Linked DNA regions of Homo sapiens: all the other regions are linked to region 3. The links are contacts of gene promoters, found by promoter capture Hi-C in blood cells and fetal thymus (Javierre and others, 2016). All regions are on one chromosome and are shown on one strand. Each heading gives the region's core, a stretch centred on a gene start or on the middle of the fragment in contact. The rest is flanking DNA. Distances are from core to core; before and after follow the strand shown.

Evidence for each region. The method cuts DNA at HindIII sites, captures the fragments that hold promoters and counts their contacts. A CHiCAGO score of 5 or more calls a contact.
Region 1: a contact is called between the fragment with the promoter of NARS2 here and the fragment with the promoter of KCTD21 in region 3, in 17 of 17 cell types (fetal thymus, total B cells, neutrophils and 14 more). The highest score is 35.7, in fetal thymus.
Region 2: a contact is called between a fragment that was not itself captured here and the fragment with the promoter of KCTD21 in region 3, in 3 of 17 cell types (naive B cells, neutrophils and monocytes). The highest score is 7.2, in naive B cells.
Region 4: a contact is called between a fragment that was not itself captured here and the fragment with the promoter of KCTD21 in region 3, in 10 of 17 cell types (neutrophils, naive B cells, total CD4 T cells and 7 more). The highest score is 14.8, in neutrophils.
Region 5: a contact is called between a fragment that was not itself captured here and the fragment with the promoter of KCTD21 in region 3, in 2 of 17 cell types (fetal thymus and activated CD4 T cells). The highest score is 6.5, in fetal thymus.
Region 6: a contact is called between a fragment that was not itself captured here and the fragment with the promoter of KCTD21 in region 3, in 3 of 17 cell types (monocytes, neutrophils and naive B cells). The highest score is 7.3, in monocytes.
Region 7: a contact is called between a fragment that was not itself captured here and the fragment with the promoter of KCTD21 in region 3, in 9 of 17 cell types (total B cells, naive B cells, neutrophils and 6 more). The highest score is 13.0, in total B cells.

What each region holds. Positions count from the first base shown.
Region 1 is chr11:78,573,555-78,576,413 of GRCh38, forward strand. NARS2 (asparaginyl-tRNA synthetase 2, mitochondrial) reads right to left here and starts at 1,310. Exons shown (of 14, transcript NM_024678.6): 1 at 794-1,310. The coding sequence starts at 934. RefSeq lists enhancers at 696-805, 1,466-1,605. The HindIII fragment of the contact is 10,208 bases long and covers 1-2,859 here.
Region 2 is chr11:78,521,318-78,524,186 of GRCh38, forward strand. The region is part of intron 6 of NARS2 (asparaginyl-tRNA synthetase 2, mitochondrial); the gene reads right to left. Among named protein-coding and RNA genes, the nearest start is that of NARS2-AS1, 10 kb to the right of the region's middle. The HindIII fragment of the contact is 7,149 bases long and covers 1-2,869 here.
Region 3 is chr11:78,187,195-78,189,979 of GRCh38, forward strand. KCTD21 (potassium channel tetramerization domain containing 21) reads right to left here and starts at 1,432. Exons shown (of 2, transcript NM_001029859.3): 1 at 1,379-1,432. It overlaps USP35 (ubiquitin specific peptidase 35), which reads left to right and starts at 1,725. Exons shown (of 11, transcript NM_020798.4): 1 at 1,725-1,963. RefSeq lists silencers at 1,149-1,488, 1,919-2,078. The HindIII fragment of the contact is 4,363 bases long and covers 1-2,461 here.
Region 4 is chr11:78,467,685-78,470,393 of GRCh38, forward strand. It overlaps NARS2 (asparaginyl-tRNA synthetase 2, mitochondrial), which reads right to left. Exons shown (of 14, transcript NM_024678.6): 10 at 1,563-1,629. Among named protein-coding and RNA genes, the nearest start is that of LINC02728, 39 kb to the left of the region's middle. The HindIII fragment of the contact is 4,339 bases long and covers 1-2,709 here.
Region 5 is chr11:77,809,753-77,812,689 of GRCh38, forward strand. All of the region lies in intron 1 of RSF1 (remodeling and spacing factor 1), which reads right to left. Among named protein-coding and RNA genes, the nearest start is that of RSF1, 9.5 kb to the right of the region's middle. The HindIII fragment of the contact is 1,997 bases long and covers 654-2,650 here.
Region 6 is chr11:78,590,802-78,593,690 of GRCh38, forward strand. No RefSeq gene overlaps it. Among named protein-coding and RNA genes, the nearest start is that of NARS2, 17 kb to the left of the region's middle. The HindIII fragment of the contact is 7,888 bases long and covers 1-2,889 here.
Region 7 is chr11:78,540,059-78,542,989 of GRCh38, forward strand. The region is part of intron 5 of NARS2 (asparaginyl-tRNA synthetase 2, mitochondrial); the gene reads right to left. All of the region lies in intron 1 of NARS2-AS1 (NARS2 antisense RNA 1), which reads left to right. Among named protein-coding and RNA genes, the nearest start is that of NARS2-AS1, 8.3 kb to the left of the region's middle. The HindIII fragment of the contact is 285 bases long and covers 1,149-1,433 here.

The DNA of each region.
Region 1 (2,859 bases), core at 60-2,559, 390 kb after region 3:
CAGTGTACTTCAGCAACCTAATAAGAAACAGTCAAACACCTTGTTTATTCTGCACCTCTTCTATGTGGAGCTGCTGCAAATAATATAATCAGCAAGAGAAACAATAGCAGCTAACATTTGTAGACTATGAGCCACTGTTCTAAATATCTTACTTCCATTACCTCATTTAATTTTCAGGACTCAGGGACAATTATTATCTCTTTCCATAAGAGGAAAATAAGGTGTAGAACGCATAAACGCTATGCAGAGATTTAAACCTAAGCAGCTTAACTCCAGAGCTCTTTCAAACTGCTACATTCCAGTCTTTCTCCGAATTCATTAAAAATAAATTACATGCAGACCCCCACAATAGGCACTGAGGTCGCTAAAAGTTTAAAAGGCATGGTTTGAACAAGTATTTGCTGTCAGCCATGTGTGAATACAAAGGCAGGTAAGACACGGTTTCTGCTCTCAAGGAGGGAGGTCAAGACAACCACTTTATAAACCTGGATATTCATTATAAGGGATAAAGATAGAGAAAGGGGGCTTGTTCATTTACACTTTTGGTATGATTAACAAGTTTACAGGTAATACCCTGGAATCATGAAAGCAAAGTTCCAGCGCTTTACAGTTATCGGAACAGTTTTGTGAAAAGTAATGGAAATCAGAAAAGTGCAAACCCGCGACGCCTACACTTTCTAACTTTTCCCTGCTGGCGGTTGTGTCTGACCCGACTGTAAAAGAAAAGCTAGATGTGGATGTGCCATATAAAAGTCCCTACAAGAAAAAACCCACTCCCTTCCCATTCACCAACCTGGATCTTAATGCGCTCCCCACTCGCGTTCTGAGCCCCGAGAGCGTCCCGCACGCTCAGTTTGGCTGAAGGTTTGTGCTTGGGGAAGGGGGCGGAGGAACAGAAGCGCACGGACCGCAGCAGGCAGCGGACCCCCAGCATCCCGCGTCCGCCCAGGCCCTCCGCGGGAGCAGCCCAGACCCCACGGTTCGAACCCCGCCTGCAGCGGCCCTCCTTTCTCAGCTGCTCCCCTTCCGCGGCCGCAGCTCTGCTCTAAGGCACTCCAGAGCCCCTCGGCTGCGCGCTTTCTCCTTCAGGACTCCCAGCTCTGTCCCCACAGAACCTCTCCGCTTCCCACTTCCCAACGGGGCGGAATGGACAGGACACTAGGCAAACGCCAGAAAGAAACCACGTGCAGTTGGCAGCTGGGGCGCCCCACTACCCGCGACAATTGTAAACCTACGAACAGAACCCGGGCCGCAACACGCGCAACCACTCCTACCACACCACGCCAACGCCGCTTACGTCATCACGCTACGGGGAAGAAGGGAGAGCATGCGTACTTGTGACCCAGGCTTAGGGAGGCGTGCGGGAGGGGGCGGGGTCAGGAGCCGAGACGGGGCGGAGCTAATGCCCTAAGGTTGTAGAGATTATCGCTGAAAGAACGTGGGAGCACATCTGAGGGTCTTCATTTCTAAAGTTTCCAGGTGAGGCTGAGAAACTGAGAGGCAAGGAGTGACTGATGGAGAGGGAAACCGTCTCCATCAGTCAACAATAGGGATCCAAGTAAGAGGAGGCTCTTAGCTGTTAACAGGATTCGCTTGAAGAGATCAGTCGTTCCTTTCCTGAGTACTCCGCAGAGAAAAATCAGACATAGCCCCAATGCGCAAGTCACAGTTGTGTGGTATCAGACAGCTAAACAGACAGTTGCATAAAAGGGCGATCAGTTTGCCTGACAGAGCCTAAGCGTGGGACGCCAGAGATGGCTTCCTGGAGAAAGTAGTCCTCTGACAGGTAAATAAAAGGAACTGGAGGGACCTTGCATATGGCAGGCAAGACGGTGGGAAGATGTTGCAGAGACTGGAGGAAACTCGAGTGTTTCCTGCCAGAATCCTCCAAGTCTCCCTCTTCCCTCTGCCCTCCAACACAGCTATCTGCATTTGTTTGACCTGGAAACAATGACCCTTTTATATATTAGGCTACGTTTTATTAAAAAAAAAATTCTGTAACTCAATGACGGTCATTAAAAGGTTTTTAATCTAATTTAAAAAGTAAAACGTTTGGCCAAGTGCGGTGGCTCACGCCTGTAATCCCAACTCTTAGGGAGGCAGAAGCAGGAGGATTGCTTCAGCCCAGGAGTTCAAGACCAGCGCTCGCCCTCGCTGTCTCTCTCCCGCTCCCTCTCACTCTCACTCTCTCTCTCTCACTTTTACCTTACTTAAAGTTGCTACTATTATTATACCCATTTTACAAATGAGAGAACTTACGCACAGAAAGGCTAGATGACCTACTTAAGGATACACATTCCCTAAGTGTGAGATTTAAACCCAGAAGTGCTGGCTCTATGCACTTAAGCAGTATGCTGTATTACATAGTGTCCCAAGGTGATCTGTTCCATCAAGGAGCTCATGCTTTAGAGATGGAGACAAGCAAGAAAAGAGACTACTGAAATATAAACCAGTAAGTGCACACATAGATGTATGAGTTGTCTGCATTTGTTTGGACTGAAAAGTCACCCTTATATATTAGGCTACCTCTTAAATTTATCCAAAAAATTATTTTTGATATTTTATCCAAATATTATATTGGATAAAATATAATACAATTATAATATATACATGTATCACAATTTTATATTTTATATAATATAAATGTGTTCCCTGGTTCTTTTAATAAATTAAAATTATAAATATAATAAAATTATAATTATAAATTATAATATATAATTAAATTATATTGGATATATTATATATTATATACTTATAATATAAAATATGTTGGATAAAATATAATATAGTCTAGAGAAGGAGAAAATTAAGCTGAATTTTTGAAGTGGATCAATATTTTGCCAGGTAGGCATGTAAGAA
Region 2 (2,869 bases), core at 146-2,645, 330 kb after region 3:
CCATGCTTGGTTTTTGGTTTTTTTGTTTGTTTGTTTGTAGAGACTAGGTCCCACTATGTTGCCTAGGATGGTCTTGAACTAGTGGCTTCAAGTGATCCTCCTGCCTCAGCCTCTCAAAGTGTTGAGATTGCAGGCTTAAGCCACTGCGCCAGGCCTGTGTCATCTTTAAAGAAGGTATAAGAAAAGCCCGGGGCCGGGCGCGGTGGCTCACGCCTGTAATCCCAGCACTTTGGGAGGCCGAGGCGAGCGGATCACGAGGTCAGGAGATCGAGACCATCCCGGCTAAAATGGTGAAACCTCGCCTCTACTAAACATACAAAAAATTAGCCGGGCGTAGTGGCGGGTGCCTGTAGTCCCAGCTACTTGGGAGGCTGAGGCAGGAGAATGGCGTGAACCCGGGAGGCGGAGCTTGCAGTGAGCCGAGATCCCGCCACTGCACTCCAGCCTGGGCGACAGAGCGAGACTCCGTCTCAAAAAAAAAAAAAAAAAAAAGAAAAGCCCGGATACATGGTTGTAGCCTTTTTGTAGTTTTTGCAGATCACAGTTCAGAATTCAGATCTTTATTTTTCACTCACACTAACAAAGAGAATTAAAATGATAAAGGTATTTCATAGTTATTAGACAAATCAGAACATGAATGCAAAGAGGCAGCAACAATCTCCTCCCCTTTTTGTTGCCCATGCTGGAGTGCAGTGGCATAATCATAGCTTACTGCAGCCTCAATCTCCTGGGCTTAAGCGCCCTCCTGCCTTAGCATCGCAAGTAGTTTGGAATACTGGTATGTGCCACTACATCCAGCTAATTTTTTTTTTTTTTTTTTTGGTAGAGATAAGGTTTCGTGTGTTGCCCAAGCTGGTCTCAAACTTCTGGTCTCAAGTGATCCTTCCACCTCAGCCTCCCAAAGCACTGGGATTATAGGCATGAGCCACTGTGCCTGGTTGACAATCTACTCTCTAATGATGATGGTAAAATTGGTTGTGTAAGTGAAATCTCAGACAAAGAGCTTTCAGATAATGATACCTATCTAAGTGAATTTTCTCAAACATAAGAACTGTTAAGTGAAAAATACATTTCAAGTCAAAAAACAAATTCAGTACTTCCATCCAATGAGTCATTCCACAAGAAGGATTTCATTATGTAATAATTTATAAGAATTTGGACCATCCCATTTTCTAAAAGGATATGTGGCAATATTCCTTCATCATTTATGATATTTGTACACCAAAATTTACTTACTAAGGTTAATAAGTGAACAAATGCTGAAGCAAGTATTTTATAAAGGTGTTTAGGAAAAAAAAAGATGATGTAGAAACAGAAGAATTCATTAATTTGATCATTCTAATTGGTGTACAATCTAAAAATAAAAATGTTTTGCAATTATGGGGCAAAAAAGATGGCCACTCTTCCTTCAACAAAATTATAAGGGGACAAAATACTCAAAAGCATTTTTTTTATAATGTAAGTATAAGTTTCAGAAGTAATAATAAGTTAGAGCCTATTAAAGATGTATTAAAAATCTGGAATCAGTATTCAAAGGACAGCATATGTTCCAGGTTCATGCATGGCAGTATTCAGCAGTTTGCTGAATTCAATAGGCTATGCCCATCTGGAGTACTTTCAAAACCCAGAAAAGTGAAAATGAAAATCTGAGTTTGCCAACATCAAGGATGTGAAAAGAAAATCCACCAAACAGGGAAAAAATATTTGCAAATCATATATTTAATAAAGGACTTGTATGCAGAATATATAAAGAACTCTCAAAACTCAATAAAAAGACAATCCAATTTTAAAAATAACTCAAGGACTTACATAGACATTTCTCCAAATAAAATACATACAAATGGCCAACAGGCACATGGAAAGACGCTCCACACCTTTTCATGTGCTCATTGACTTTAATGATGAAAACCCATCATTAGTAGTCAGGGGAATGCAAGTCAAAACCATAATGAGATACTACTTTACATTTGTCAGAACAGCTACAATAAAAAGACAATAATAAGCATTTGCAAGGATGTGGAGAAACTGGAATGCTTTTGCTATTGCTGGTGGGACTGTAAAATGGTCCAGCCTCTGTGGAAAACAGACTAGCAATTCCTCACACAGTTAAACATAGTTACTGCATGACCCATTAATTTCGCTCCTAGGTATCTACCAAAGAGAAATGACAACATGTCCACACAAAAACTTCCACCCAAATGTTCACAGCAACATTACTTACAAGAGCCAAAAGTAGAAACAACCCAAATGCTCATTATCTGATAAATGAAGCAAAATATTATATGCCCATGTAATGGAATGCTATTTGGGAATAAAAAGGAATGAAGTACTGATACATGCTGCAAGTTGGATGAACTTTGAAAACATTTGCTAAATGAAATAAACCAGTCACAAAATACAATTTACTGTGTGATTCTATCTATATACGATAAATATTCCAGAATAGGTAAACTCATAGAGAGAGAACTTAATTAGTGGTTGCCCAGGGGTGGGGGCAAAGAAGAGGATAGGGAGTGAATGCTAATGGAAAAAATTTGTCTTTTGGGAGTGATAAAACCTTAAAATTATAAATATTGGAAAGTATTCTAAAATTATGTCAGTGATACTTGAATATCTTCAAAATATGCTAAAACCCACTGAATTGCACACTTCAAATTGGTGAATTTTAGGGCATATACGTTCTCTCTCAATATAACAATTTAATTTTTTTGACTTGCTATGTTTAAATTCTCCTGAAAATTTCTAATAAAGTTGATCTTCACTGTCCCTTTATTTATACTTCTGTGTATTAACTACAAGATGGCTTTAAAATATTTTTTAAAAATAAGGCCCATTAGCCCCAGATGATAAATGATGATGACTATTTTTC
Region 3 (2,785 bases), core at 182-2,681:
CTTCCCCACCTTACCCCACCGGAGAAAGGACTCTTTGCCTTGAAGCCCCTAGGACGACTACCCTTTCTTCACCTCCTCTTCCTGACCACCCCACATCAAAGAGCTGCGTCTATAATTCTGTCTTGCCCAGTCCATATCTCTAAGAAATCCGAAGGCTGCTCTATTACCATCACAACCCATAGGGAGGAGAGAAAAGGTGCTTCCTAGACACAGGGACCCCAGAATGAGCTGCGCAAAAGGCAGGAGGAGAGAAAGGTGGGCTGGAAGAAGGAGACCACGGAATCTGGCACGGCAAGGTATTCTTTCATCTGGCGTAGACCTCCAACAACCACTACCATCCCCCAGCCCCTTCCAGAACTTTCCTTCACCTTCTCGGCTCACTCTCACGCTTCACCTTGTGCTTTTCCTCCGGCACCAGCACCCCATTTCAAACCGCTCTCTTCCTATGTCTCCTCCAAACAGTAATTTATAAACACCGTGCTTTCAAATCCATCTCATTTCATCCTCACAGTACTATAGGAGGGCTGCCTTACAGGCTGTCATTCGGAAGGGTTGGGGGGACTGGTCCTGCCAGACAATTTGCGAAGGTCGGGGCATCAAAACTTTTCTTTCCTGCCTCCCACGCCAAGCTAAACCTCTGCCTCCCCGAGTGCAGGGAGAAAAGCAAGGTCTTTGAAGTAAGGAGTCCTGAGTGGTTTTAGGCAAGTCCCTTCGCTTTTCTGAGCCTCACATTCCTCACCTGTCAACCGCTATAGTGACGCCTCTACTTTTCAGGGCGTGGGAGGTCAATGAGATCACTGGTGTGCCGCACTGAACTCGGGGATGGACTCTTTATTTCCAGTCAGTAAAGGGAGGTGTTCTATGCATCACAGGCTTTTGCCCACGCCGCCACAGCGCGGCCGGCCCAGGGCTCTCCAGAGCGGGGCAAGTTCCCTGTCATCTGTGTCTCCGCCCTTCCTTCCCCAATCTCACCCAGGCTGGCCTCATCGGCTTGTTCCGCACCCACTCCCCAGCCCTACAGCCCCCACTCCGACCTGACAAGTGCCCCACCCCCACCTAGAGATCCCGCCTCTCCTTGCCCCACCCACCAAGGACTCCTCCCACAGTCCCGACCCTCATTATCCGGGCTTTTCCGACTATCACCATCCGCCCTTGCTCTCCCAACAGCCCCGCCCCTCTAAGAGCTCTGCCCACTTCGGCTCACCTCGCTCCGAAACGCGCCCCCTCCCCCGCACCACAGGCGATGCCATCCCCATTTCACAGATGGGAATGGCGAGGCTGGGATAGATTAGTCTCATGGTAAGACAGGTGCTCAGTGGGCCCACGTACCCTCGCCGGTAGTCCCCGAGCCCCGCGACCCCGGCCGTGCCGCACCCACCTCCTGCCCTCGCTCTGCAGCCTCTCCCTCCGCGAGCGGCCAGCGCAGCTTTGCGAGGGGGGCGGAGGGTAGGAGCCCAGCCCAGGGGCGTGGCGGTCCGGGGTCTGTGCGCTGCCTTCCGGGACTGGTAGTTCTCTCTGGGCTCCTCGCAGCTCGGCGCGTCGAGAGCGAACTCCATCTCCCAGGAGGCATTGCAGCGAGTTGCTCTGCGCCCCGCCTCGTCCCCGCCGGTGTCCGGCCGGCTGGCCTTAAAGGGGACGCGGTCAGAGTGGCAGCTCGCGGGGTGGCCCCCGCTCCGGCTCCGCCCCATTTCACGCACCTCGCCCCTCCCCATGCTTCATCCCGCAGCCCCGGGGCCGCGCCGCAGAGTCGGGCTTCCTGGATACATAGAGGCTTGTGCCAGGCGGGGTGGGAAGACTGGATTTTGCAGTGGAAGCAGCATCTCTTCCGTCTGGGACCTGGCTGAGGGCGTCCCCACCCTGGGGGGAGCAGAGGACCAGCCCTGACCTAGCCGGGCCCAGCCTCGTCCTGCCCGGCCTGAGCGCCCCGCCCAGCAGCCGGCTCTGGCCCACCGGGGTCCGGGAGGTAAGGGGGTTGGGGGCGTGTGACTGTCTTTGGGGGGCGGTGTCTGCACCCTGGCCTTTCGAGAACCCTGGACTTGCGAGCCCAGGGCTGGGAGTCGGGAGATCTGGGTGCATCCTGGGCCTCCTGGGCCTCACTGTGTGACCTTGGGCGAGTAGCTATTCCTCTCTGGGCATTAATCCCCTCCCTTCATCAATTGTATGTCGAAGTGATCCTGCTCCCTCCCCTTTCAGGTAAGAGGGCATTCGCACCCAGTACCTAGTACATTCGCTTGCTGGCTTTTCGTGGGGCCCTCCAGCTCAAGCGTGGGCTGGGCGCGGGTGCACTGGAGGGAGGGAGGTGGCACAAACTGGGGGGCCCGAGGCCACCATTGCTTGGAATGGGCTTTTCCTATTCTCAGTGTGCTGGGCCCTGGGATACCCTCCCCAACCCCCTCTTACGGCCCTGGCCCTTGCAAACCGGAGACCCTGATGTGTCAGCTTGGTGCCCTTCCTTCCAGAAAGCTTGGGGTGGAGTGCGGCCCTCACAGGTTTGTGAGGGGTGGCCCCGCAGGGATAGGTGTGTGTGGTGGGTTCCTGAGGAGGAATAGCTGCTCCTGCTTTCTTCCCTTCTCTCTCCTCCTTATCCTTTGAGGAAGAGCAGCTGCTTTTTACCAGTGAAACCCTTTTTTCTTTTTCTTTCCAGGAGACAGTTTGGTGGCCCAGACATGGGCCTCCCGGAGTAGGGTGAAGCACTTCTTCCCAGGGTTGCCTTGGGTAGAAGTTCAGTTAAAAAATACCTAGAGAGATGCTGCCATTCAGACACCTGAGGGGCCAGAGATGGAGG
Region 4 (2,709 bases), core at 193-2,692, 280 kb after region 3:
CAAAGTGTATACACTTTCAGTTATAAGATGAACAAGTTCTGGGGATCTAATGTACAGTGTGGGTAATGACAGATGTGTTAACTAATTTGATTATGATAATCTGTTACACAATGTATACATGTATCAAATCATCATGTCGTATACCCTGAATATATACAATCTTCTTTTGTTGTTGTTCTTCGAGACAAGGTCTTTCTCTGTCACCTAGGCTGGAGGGCTGTAGTCGATCATGGCTCACTGCAATTTTAAACTCCTGGGCTCAAGCAATCCTACCTTGGCCTCTTAAAGTGTTGGGATTACAGGTGTGAACTACCACACCCGGCCTATACAATCTTTGTTTATCAAGTAAGTATTGAAAAAAAAAAAAAAAAAAGAATTCTTGGCTGGGTACTGAGGCATGCTCCTCTAGTCCCAGTTACTTGGCAGGCTGAAGTGGCGGATCCCTTGAGCCTAGGAGTTCAAGATGAGCTCAGGCATCATAACGAGACCTCCATCTCTTAAATATAAAGTTCTTTAAAAGCAAAACAAACAAAAAAACCCCAGTATTTTCCAGAGTGGCTCATAAACTAAAAGGCTCCGTAAAGTTCAACTGAAAAACAAACCTGCTTCTGCAAGCACTAAATCTGAAAAAAAAAAAAAAAAAAGAAAAAAAAGAAAAAGAAAAACACACCTGTTTAGTTATGTTGCCTAAACTTATTTGATAATATAACTTCTTTTGTTGGTCATCTTTTTTTTTTTTTTTGAGATGGAGTCTCGCTGTTGCCGAGGCTGGAATGCAGTGGTGATCTCTGCTCACTGCAGACTCTGCCCCCCGGGTTCATGCCATTCTCCTGCCTCAGCCTCCTGAGTAGCTGGGACTACAGGCGCCCGCCACCTCACCCAGCTAATTTTTTGTATTTTTAGTAGAGACGGGGTTTCACCATGTTAGCCAGGATGGTCTCGATCTCCTGACCTTGTGATCCACCCGCCTCAGCCTCCCAAAGTACTGGGATTACAGGTGTGAGCCACCGCACCCAGCCTGGTCATCTTTTAATGTCATTCAGAATATATTTTGGAAAACACAGAACTAGTTGACTTTTACAGTAATATTCTTTTTTTAAAAATTCACTTTTTTTTTTTTTTTTTTGGGTAGAGACAGGGTCTCACTGTATTGCCCAGGCTGGTCTTGAACTTTGGGGCTCAAGCAATCTGCCTGCCTTGGCCTCCCAAAGTGCTGGAATTATAGGCGTGAGCCCCAACACCTGGTCTCTACAGTAATAGTCTATGATTATCTTTCTTTTTTAGAATTTTCATCTTCCTAAACGTGGGAGACTCCTTTATAACCCTTTAGTCACTGCTATTCCAAATGATAAAATTTATTTTTATTCTTAATTAATTCCGTTTTAAGTATCTCAACAAGATTCAGCAAACATCAAAATCTTAAGTCTGTGTACAAATGAGCAAATGCCATATTTTGCTAATAAGAGAATTAAGATGATTTTGAAAGATTCTTAACACAGTAAGCTAAAGACAAGAAGGAAGCATTTTCACACACACATATATACATACACACAAAATACTACCTCTGGGGTAAAGGTGAAGTTCTGGGATGCTTGCTTTAAGATCTCCACTGCTTCAGTATAAGAAATGCTGGAGGAAAACAGGATACAAGCAGAGAAAAGTCAATACAATGGAGCTGCTAACTAGTTCATTTTAAAACCAGAAAAAGCGTACTCCTATATCACACTGTGAGGTCATGAATAATCAGGAATTAAGGCTGATCTAATCCTATGAAAGAATGATCTGCCTGAAGACAAGTAACCATTCAATAACCTCAACTCCTCATCTACTTGCAATATACACAGTGAAGCTAGTCACTTAAGCAAGTAAAGATTATTCTCTGAATCCATGATATGCCAATGCCCTATTAAAAGACTACAACAGCAAAATACTTTTTCCTAAAATTCACCATTAATTCATTTATTTATCCAACAGACATATACTTGGCACCTACTAGGCACTACACACAATTCTAGGCACTGGAGATAAAAATAAAGCTCAGCCTTCATGGAGACAATGTGCGTGCGCGCATGTGTGTGTCAGAGAGAGAGAGAGCGAGAGATGCAGGTGAGGAGAGAGTAGACAGATAAATAAACAAGTAGCTATTCGTGCTATGAAGAAAAATAAAGTGGAATAAGAAGGCAGAGGGGGTTTGGGGTGCCATTTTAGATATGATGGTCAAGAAAGGCCTAAGTTTGTGACATTTGAACAGAAGCGTGCACCGAGTAAGGAAATGAACCATAGAAGTATCTTGGGAGGAGTATTCCAGGCAAAAGGAACAGCAAGTACAAGGACCTGAAGTGAGAAACAGTTTGGCTTGTTCACAGAACAAAAAGGGCAGTCAGCGTGACTAGAGCATACTGAACAAGAGGAAGAATGCACAGGAAATTACATAGGAAAGGCAGTCAGAAGTCAGATCACATGGACTCTTTCAGGTCATAGTAAGGGCCTGGTAATATATTCTAAGCATTATAAGACTATGTAGGAAAATACTGATTCTCTCCATGAGACACCCTCATGCCTAAAGTAAGTCAAAGCAAGTATTTGTTTTAATTTAACTATGTGAATAGGTAACTTGTCTACATAGTTTTAAAAAAAATCAAGATGTATAAGAGTATACATCTCCCTTCCATTGCGGTTCCAGAGAAACCTAGTTCCTTTCCTTTCACA
Region 5 (2,937 bases), core at 402-2,901, 380 kb before region 3:
CAAAGTTTTCCAATATTACCATATTGCTATATCCCCAAACTCCAAATACCAAAAGCAAGTTAGAATGGATTATTTGGAATAACTCATTCTACCTAATTTTCTTTTCCTAAAACACTTTTAACATCTAAACATTGAAGAAGTGGCAATTATATTTATTTGCAGAGCCAACTGTGAAGATGCTAAGGACAAAAGGAAAAGAGTAAGTATCAAACTCCCTGAGATATCTAGCATAACACATGCCTAAGCTTCATAACCAGTACTGCACTTTTGCTGCAAAATACACTGATGACCAAGGCATTTAATCCCACTTACTAGTAAGCTATTATCTAGTACATTCTTTCCCAGTCCTGTGTCCTCTAAGTAACCTAAGTAAATCTTTTAAGTTCTACCTTTAATAACTACATCCTTTCCCATCTGAGTACACGGCATCACCATTCATCCAACCTTACCCTCCCCTAATCAGTCCACTTGGATAAGACTTTGAGGCCAGTATAGCAGCAATGTTACAACAACTCTTACCCTCACTACCAATTACCATGTCACATGGCTCCCATCCTGGCATTGCCTTATGACAATTAGGCAGAGGTAGCCATGGCTACTCTTGAATGAAAGAAATTTAGTTCAATATAATGTCATCACCTTGTTAACAAAAAAGCTTTTAGACTCACCTAACCCAAGAGGAGTAATTAATACTAAAACAGTTGGATGTAAAATTAGATCAATACTGGGGAGACTACTGTTCCACTAAGTTTCATTCACAGGACATTCTAGGCATTTAATTTGTATTATATTGGTTCCTTTTTATTTTTATTTTTTGGGGGGGAGATGGGTGGAGTCTCCCTCTGTTGCCCAGATTGGAGTGCAATGGCATAATCATGGCTCACTGTAATCTCTGCCTCCTGGGTTCAAGCAATTGTTGTGTGGCAGCCTCCTAGGTAGCTGGGATTACAGGTGTATCCCACCACATCCAACTAATTTGTATTTTTAATAGAGACCAGGTTTCACCATGTTGGCGAGGCTGGAAATTTGTATTATACTGGTTCTAAATGTATTTTCAAAAACAGAGATCATCATCTGATAAGACTTCCATCTTCATACACTGGAATAAAGATCAGTAAATTTTTTTCTGTAAAGGGCTAGACAGATAATAAGTTCTTCAGGTTTTGGGTTTTGTTTTTTTCTGAGACAGGGTCTTGCTGTTTCACCCAGGCTGGAGTGCAGTGGCATGATCAGCCTCAACCTCTGGGACTCAGACAATCCTCCGAAAGTGCTTGGATTGCAGTATGAGCCACCATACCCAGCCCAATACTTTAGGTTTTGAAGTTATATGTTCTCTGTGACCATCACTCAACTCTGCCACAGTTGTGTGAAAGCAGCTACAGACAACAGAATGTAAACAAATGAACATGGCTGTATACCAGTAAAACCTTATTTACAAAGATAGAGAGGACAGGCTGTAGATTGCCCACCACTGTACTAAGCTATCACAGACTAGGCTTTAACTTCAAAGTTTTAGAGCAGAACATGGTCCTATAGTAAGTTGAGGAAAACTATTAATTCCACAAACATTTACTACATATTTGCTATTACCCACCAATTGCTGGTGATAAAATAAAGTAAGAAACCCTGTCCTCAAAGAGTTTACCATCTTGTAGGCTAGGCAGTAACTGCAAAAAGTGTTATGAGTACTGTGGCATAAAATCTACAAAGTGTACGTGCAGGGTAAGGAGATTGAAGTGGTTAATTTAACTTGAGAGACAGAAAGAAGGAAATTTTCCACAGAGCATTTGATGCTTAAAGAGCAGACTAATGACGGGTACAGTGAGCAGGCAAGGGAAGGAAGATGGGGATGGTATATTCGACTCAGAGGCAGGAGGACGAAGAAAAAGCATAAATGTAAAACAACCTTTCACATCTTCAGAGATGTAAAAGCAGTTTGGCGTGATTAAAACTAGCAATGAGAACAGAAAAGCAAGGTTGAATATAAAAGGGGATAAACAGACTCAATATAACTTGGTATCAAAGAAAGTGTCAGAGGCTAAGGTCTAGGATGCCTCCTTGGTTTCTGATCTGAGTGACTTGGGTAGATGATAGTAACATTCATTTAAGAGGTAATTCAAGATTAAGAATAAATAAATAGGCTGAGCTTGGTGGCTCACGCCTGTAATCCCAGCACTTGGGGAGGCTGAGTCAGGTGGATTGCTTGAGCCCAGGAGTTTGAGACCAGCCTGGGCAACATAATGAAACTCTGTCTCTACTAAAAATACAAAAAATTTTTAGCTGGGTGTGGTGGCACATGCCTGTAGTCCCCAGCAACTTGAGAGGCTGAAATGGGAGGATCGCCTGAGTCTGGGAGGTAGAGGTTGCAGTCAGCAGAGAACAAGCCACTGCACTCCAGCCTGGGTGACAGAGTGAGACCCTGTCTATAAAAATAAGAGTACATAAATACAAGCAGAAATTCAATTTTCCTTTTAAAAAGCCTCTTTAGAAATCTAGTTTTAAATAGTTTTTTGGTGATTATCAAAGAAATGCACAATTAACATAGAAAATGAAATGTGAAAAAATATAAGAAAAACCAAAGGGAAAAAACTGTATAATCCTACTATTCAGAAAATGATTAAGATAAACATGTACAAATACTGGAGAATAAAGCTTAGAGTCTAAAATTAAATACAGACTCAACCTCCACTACGAAAGCTTTCTGGAGGAACTCTTGCTTACATGAGCCATATATACATTATATACTTCATGTTGCTCTTCAAGCAATCCTTGTTCAACTACAGGAGGCTGAAGCCTGGTCTGTCTGCTGTCAAGTTTTGCCCTCATGCTCTTCTTTCTTAAAATCAGTTTGGGCTGGATGTGGTGGCTCATGCCTGTAATCCCAGCACTTTGGGAGGCCGGGGCAGGCAGATCACTTGAGGTCAGGAGTTTTTGAGA
Region 6 (2,889 bases), core at 201-2,700, 400 kb after region 3:
GCATGGTCTTATGACTCTAAAAACAGTCAATCTGAGATGCAGAGAGTAGAATGGTGATTACCAGGGTCTGGTTATGAGGAATGGGGAGATGCTGATAAAAAGGTACAAAGTTTTAGTTAGACACAAGTAAGTTCGGGTGATCTATTGTAAAAATGGTGACTACAGCTAATAATAATGTACTGTGTACTTGAAAATGGCTAAGAGAGGCTGGGCGTGGTGGCTCACGCCTGTAATCCCAGCACTTTGTGAGGCCAAGGCCGGTGAATCACTTGAGGTCAGGAGTTCTAGACCAGCCTGGCCAAGATGGTGATACCCCATCTCTACTAAAAATACAAAAATTAGCTGGGCATGGTGGCACGTGCCTGTGATTCCAGCTACTTGCAAGGCTGAGGTGGGAGAATCGCTTGAACCCAGGAGACGGAGGTTACAGTGAGCCAAGATCATGCCACTGCACTCCAGCCTGGGCGACAGAGCGAGACTCCATCTCAAAAAAAAGAGAGGAGACATTATGGATTAAAGGAAAAATAAAACACATAGCAATCAAATGTAATGCATGAATGCTTACTTGGATTATGACTTAAGTCAACAGAGAAAAGATATATTTTTTAAAGACATAAAAATAGTTCAACAGCACAGAGTATTATTTTTTGAGTTTCTCTAAGATTGATATTATTTCCTTTTTAAGTGTTTGAATATAATTCATTGTGTAGTCATGTGGGCCTAGAGCTTCCTTCATGAGAAAGTTAAATTAAATTAAATTAATTAATTATTTTAGAGACAAGGTCTTGCTATGTTCCCCATGCTGGTCTTGAACTTCTGGGCTCAAGCAATCCCCTCTCCTCAGTCTTCCAGAGTTCTGAGATTATAGGCATGGGCCACTGCACTCGGCCTATGAGACGGTTTTGAATTACAGATTTAACATGTTTAATAAATATGATGTTGTGCAGATTTTGTATTTCTTTTTCCGTCAGTTTTTGTAAGTTGTATGTTTTGAGAAATTTATCTAAGCAGCTAAATTTCTTGGCATAAAATTGTTCATATTATTCTTTCAGTGTCTGTAGGATCTGTAATGACGTCCTTTAATTCCTAATATTAGTTGATATTGAGGAATTATGCACAAAATTCTTCGCTGTTAAAGATACAATCCTAAAGAATTTATGGGTGAAATGTGATATCTAGAATTTGGTTTTAGATATTTCAGAAAAAAAATAAAACAGTATAGATGGAATAGATGAAATAGGACTGGTAAAATGTTGAAAAATATTGAAGTTGGGTAACATACACAGGAATTCATTGTACTATTCATGTTGGAGATTTTTCTATAATAAAAATGGTATGTAAAAAAGAATGGGAGAAGAGAAATTGGAGACAGGGTTTTCAAGAAGTTTTGTTGTAAGGGGAGCAGAAAAACTGAGGTGGTAACTGGTGGAAGAATGTGGTCATGAAAGCGGACTTCTTTAATATGTGAGAAATAATAGCATGTTTGTCTGGTGATAAGAAAGATCTGATTTTTCCATTAGAGCCCTTAGCATATTAATCACCATTGTTTTAAATTCCTGGTCTAATAATTCTAACATCTCTGCCATATCTGAGTCTGATTCTAATGCTTGCTCTGTCTCTTCAAACTGTGTTTTTTTTTTTGTCTTTTAGTTTATCTTGTAATTTTATTTTTTTTAATCTTTATCTTTAATTTTTTTGTTGAAAGTTGGACACAATGTAGTGGATAAAAGGAACTGAGGTAAATACATCTTTATTTTCATTTATTTATTTATTTATTTTGAGATGGAGTCTCGGTCTGTTACCCAGGCCGAAGCGCAGAGGCGTGATCTCGGCACACTGCAACCTCCGCCTCCTGGGTTCAGGTGATTCTCCAGCCTCAGTCTCCCAAGTAGCTGGAACTACAGGCACGAGCCATCACACCTGGGCTAATTTTTGTATTTTTAGTAGAGATGGGATTTCACCATGTTGGCCAGGCTGGTCTCAAACTCCTGACCTCAAGTGATCCACCCTCCTTGGCCTCCCAAAGTGCTAGGATTACAGGTGTGAGCCACCACACCCGGCCTGTAAATAAGTCTTCAGTGGGAAGTTGTATATTTATCTTATTTATCTAGTTAGAAGTTAGGCTGTGTTTACTGTTTGTTGTAGCTGTGGGAGTCAGAGGCAAAAATTTCCTCCGGTGTCCTTGTTTTTGTCTCACCTGTTATCTTTGGATTTCCCTAGAGACTTCTTGGGAGGTCTCAGAAATAACATGCAGTTATTTCTGTTGTACTCCCTTATTATCATACAGATAAGTCCTGTTGATATAGTGGTGAGGTGTGGAGAGAGAGGAAGAATTCTATAGACCTGTGATTAGGTCTTAGACTTTAGCGAGCCTGTGCTCCTGGGCTGCACCTTTCACAAGCGCTTCTCAGTTCTTTCCCGCTTTAGTTGGCAAAAAGGGGCTGGAGTTGGGTATTTTCCTTCTCCTGTGATTAGTCTCTGGTAAAATCCAGTCAGCTAGCCTCTGATAACATAGTTTCCATTGAGAGCAGGCTTTGTTAAGAAGAGCTGGACACTTTGGCATATTTCGAATGGCTATTTTTCCCCTCCTCTTGCCAGAAGCATGAGGATTTTTTTTTTGTTTTTTTTTTTTTTGCTGATCTTCACCCTGAGAACCTGGTAGGGTTCTTGGAGGTAAAACTCACGAAAGTGGAGGTAAAATCCAGTATGACTGGCCACATGCCCTGGAGTTTTTAACTTTCAAACTTGTCCACACAGAGCCTCCAGCAATTCATCTATTATAGTTTGGGTTTTTCGTTCCCCAGTACTCGTTCTTGCAGAGTTTTCTGCCCCTGGGCTTCTATTCCAGTAAGTTGTGATTCTCTGTATTTACCCATTTGTCTCTCCAGT
Region 7 (2,931 bases), core at 41-2,540, 350 kb after region 3:
AAAACTTACGTTAGTGCAATAAAACTTAACCTAGCCTTTCTCTATTATGCAAAACAAAAATTTTTGCTAGGTTATTCTGCCACTGGAAGACAGTAAATAGCACAGCCAAGAAAGGGGAAACCAAGAGCTACCAAAAAAATTTTTTTAATGTGTGTATCCCAGTGAATTTCTTACCACACGGATCTAAAATCCTCCCTGTTTCTTTGAGGATTTCCAAGAAAATATTAAACAAGTATTTTGAATTGCCCTCCAGTTATTTGTTCTCACAGCAGAACAAATTTAGCTGAGCAGTTTCACAATCTCAGGAGAATTAAATAGAAAAACCCACACAAGTCCGACTCTGTCTCCATGTAAAATATATAGCAAGGAGCGAGAGTAAATAGCAGTAAGCTGAACAGTGGAAAGGAATATAATCAACAATGGAAAACTTATTTGACCTCTACAATCACTGAAACACCCAATCTATTTTTATCTCCTTTTACTTTTTCCATTTTCTACTTTGTACCCTACCCCCACCTTTTACCCAGTTCTATTTACTCATAATCCCAGAGACAAAAAGTTGGGAAGAGAATACATAAAGATGAAGCATGGTTCAGAAATTTAAAAGGTTTAAAATCATAATGGCATGCTATTGTCCTGTTTACCTCAATCTGCAATTTCCTTTGAAGATCATGAAGAAAAGGGAGAGTACTCACCATCTGTAAGCTCCATATAACCACTGAATATCCTATTTTCTTTCTTGATCCCAATTAAGAGATTAGAGGGAGGCTATGCCTTTCACGATACAGATAGTAAAGAATAAAAAAATCTAAGTTAGATAAAACTTTAATTTTTTCACGCCTGTAATCCCAGCACTTTGGGAGGCCAAGGTAGGCGCATCACCTGAGGTCAGGAGTTCGAGACCAGCCTGGTCAACATGGTGAAACCCCATCTCTACTAAAAATACAAAAATTAGCCAGGCGTGGTGGCGCACGCCTGTATTCCCAGCTACTTGGGAGGCTCAGTCATGAGAATTGCTTGACTCTGGGAGGCAGAGGTTGTTGTGAGCTGAAACTAGTACTATTGTACTCCAGCCTGAGTGACAACAGTGAAACTCCATCTCAAAAAAAAAAATTTTAATTCAACTTCCCTCTTGTAAAAGATGCTAAAGCTTAAAAATGTTAAATGTCAAATGTTAGAATAAATGTTATATACAACTACTTTTTGGTAAGATCAGTTGTAGAATCCAGGTTTCTCAGCTTCTAGTACAATCACCTTTCCAATAAGTCATGTCACTTTTTTTTTTTTTTTGAGATAAGGTCTTGCTATGTCGCCCAGGCTGGTCTTGAACTCCTGGGCTCAAGTGATCCTCTCACCTCTGCCTTCCGATGGGACTACAGGCATATACCACTGTGCCCAGCTCTCGCATTTTTTATCCTGTAGTGTTGAAATAAAGCTTTGGATTAAAATGCTTTTAATATTAGTCTCTCCTAAGTATGAAATGCTGATCATATAACATAAAACAAGCCAGGTGTAGTGGAGGGTGCCTGTAATTCCAGCTACTCGGGAGGCTGAGGCAGGAGGATCACTTGAGTCCAGGAGTTTGAGGTCAATGAGTTATGATCATACCACTGCACTCCAGCCTAGGTGAGAGAGTAAGACTCTGCCTCTAAAATCAATCAACCAACCAAGCAATCAATCATAGGAACTAAATCTGTCATACAGTCTCCAAAGATTTGTGGGTTGGTAGTTTCATGATCCCTATCAAGCTGTATCTCAAATGCAGTTGCTATCATTGCTGCAGAAATTGTTCTGCATGCCATTAGACTGCATCTCATACGTAAAAACCAAAGCCAAGGGAAACAGGCTCAATAAACTGCATTCTATTTTGCCGGTTATGTTAGTTTTGGGATTTGCCTATTAACAAGCCATATATGTAGGTCTTTCACTAATCTAAAAATTTCCAATAAGTCCAGTTTATGTTTCCATACTTTCCACTTGCTACAAATGTGTATCTTGGTGTACACAGAACTGCTAGTATAAAAATAATCTTTCTTAAAATAAGGGTTCATTTACATTCCAGAACACCCACTAACTAGAACACCCACTCAGCCCTGAGAAAGGTTTCATTTAAACAACTATTTGATCAGCAGGAAAGGAAGTTATTAAGTCAGACTGTTTGTAAACAGTGTTTTCCTGCTGAGCAGTCTGAGAAAGAATGAATCAAGAAAAGACGCGTGGAGTCTAATATTAGAGGGTAAGGTTGAGGCAAAACAGAAAGTGAATATACAATGCTGCCTTATTTTTCTTTTACAGGAGATAAACACAAATGTAAAATTGCAAAACAGCAAACTTATTCCTAAATGTAAAGGGGTCGGTGAAAAATGAACCAAACTTTTTTTCACTATTGCTTGAAAAATATTAATTTTGGCTTATTCATTGTCAGATTGGGGCTTTAAGGATGAATATGATAAGATATGGTCCTAGTCCGTTAACTAGGACTTCTGTGAGAAGGGATACCTATGCTCCAGAGTTAAGTCTCCAAACCACGTATCCACACAAAGGACTTGACTACCACTAAACACAGCAGGTACTCAATAAATACTTATAAATCCCAGCACTTCGGTGGGGTGGAGGCAGGAGGATTGCTTGAGACCAGGAGTTCAAGACCAGCCTGAGCAACATAGTGAGACCCTGACTCTACTTTAAAAATTAGCTGGGTGTGGTGGTGCGCACCTGTAGTTTTAGTAACTCTAGAGGCTGGAGTGGGTGGATCACTTGAGCTCAGGAGGTCAAGGCTGCAGACAGCCATGATCGCTGGCTCATCACTGCACTCCCAACAGGGCGACAGAGCGAGACCTTGGGTCAAAACAAACCCCCCCACAAAATATACTTTCTTGCAGTTGCTGCAAGGAGGAAGTTAAGTTATTGATAACTGGAACAGAAGGGCTT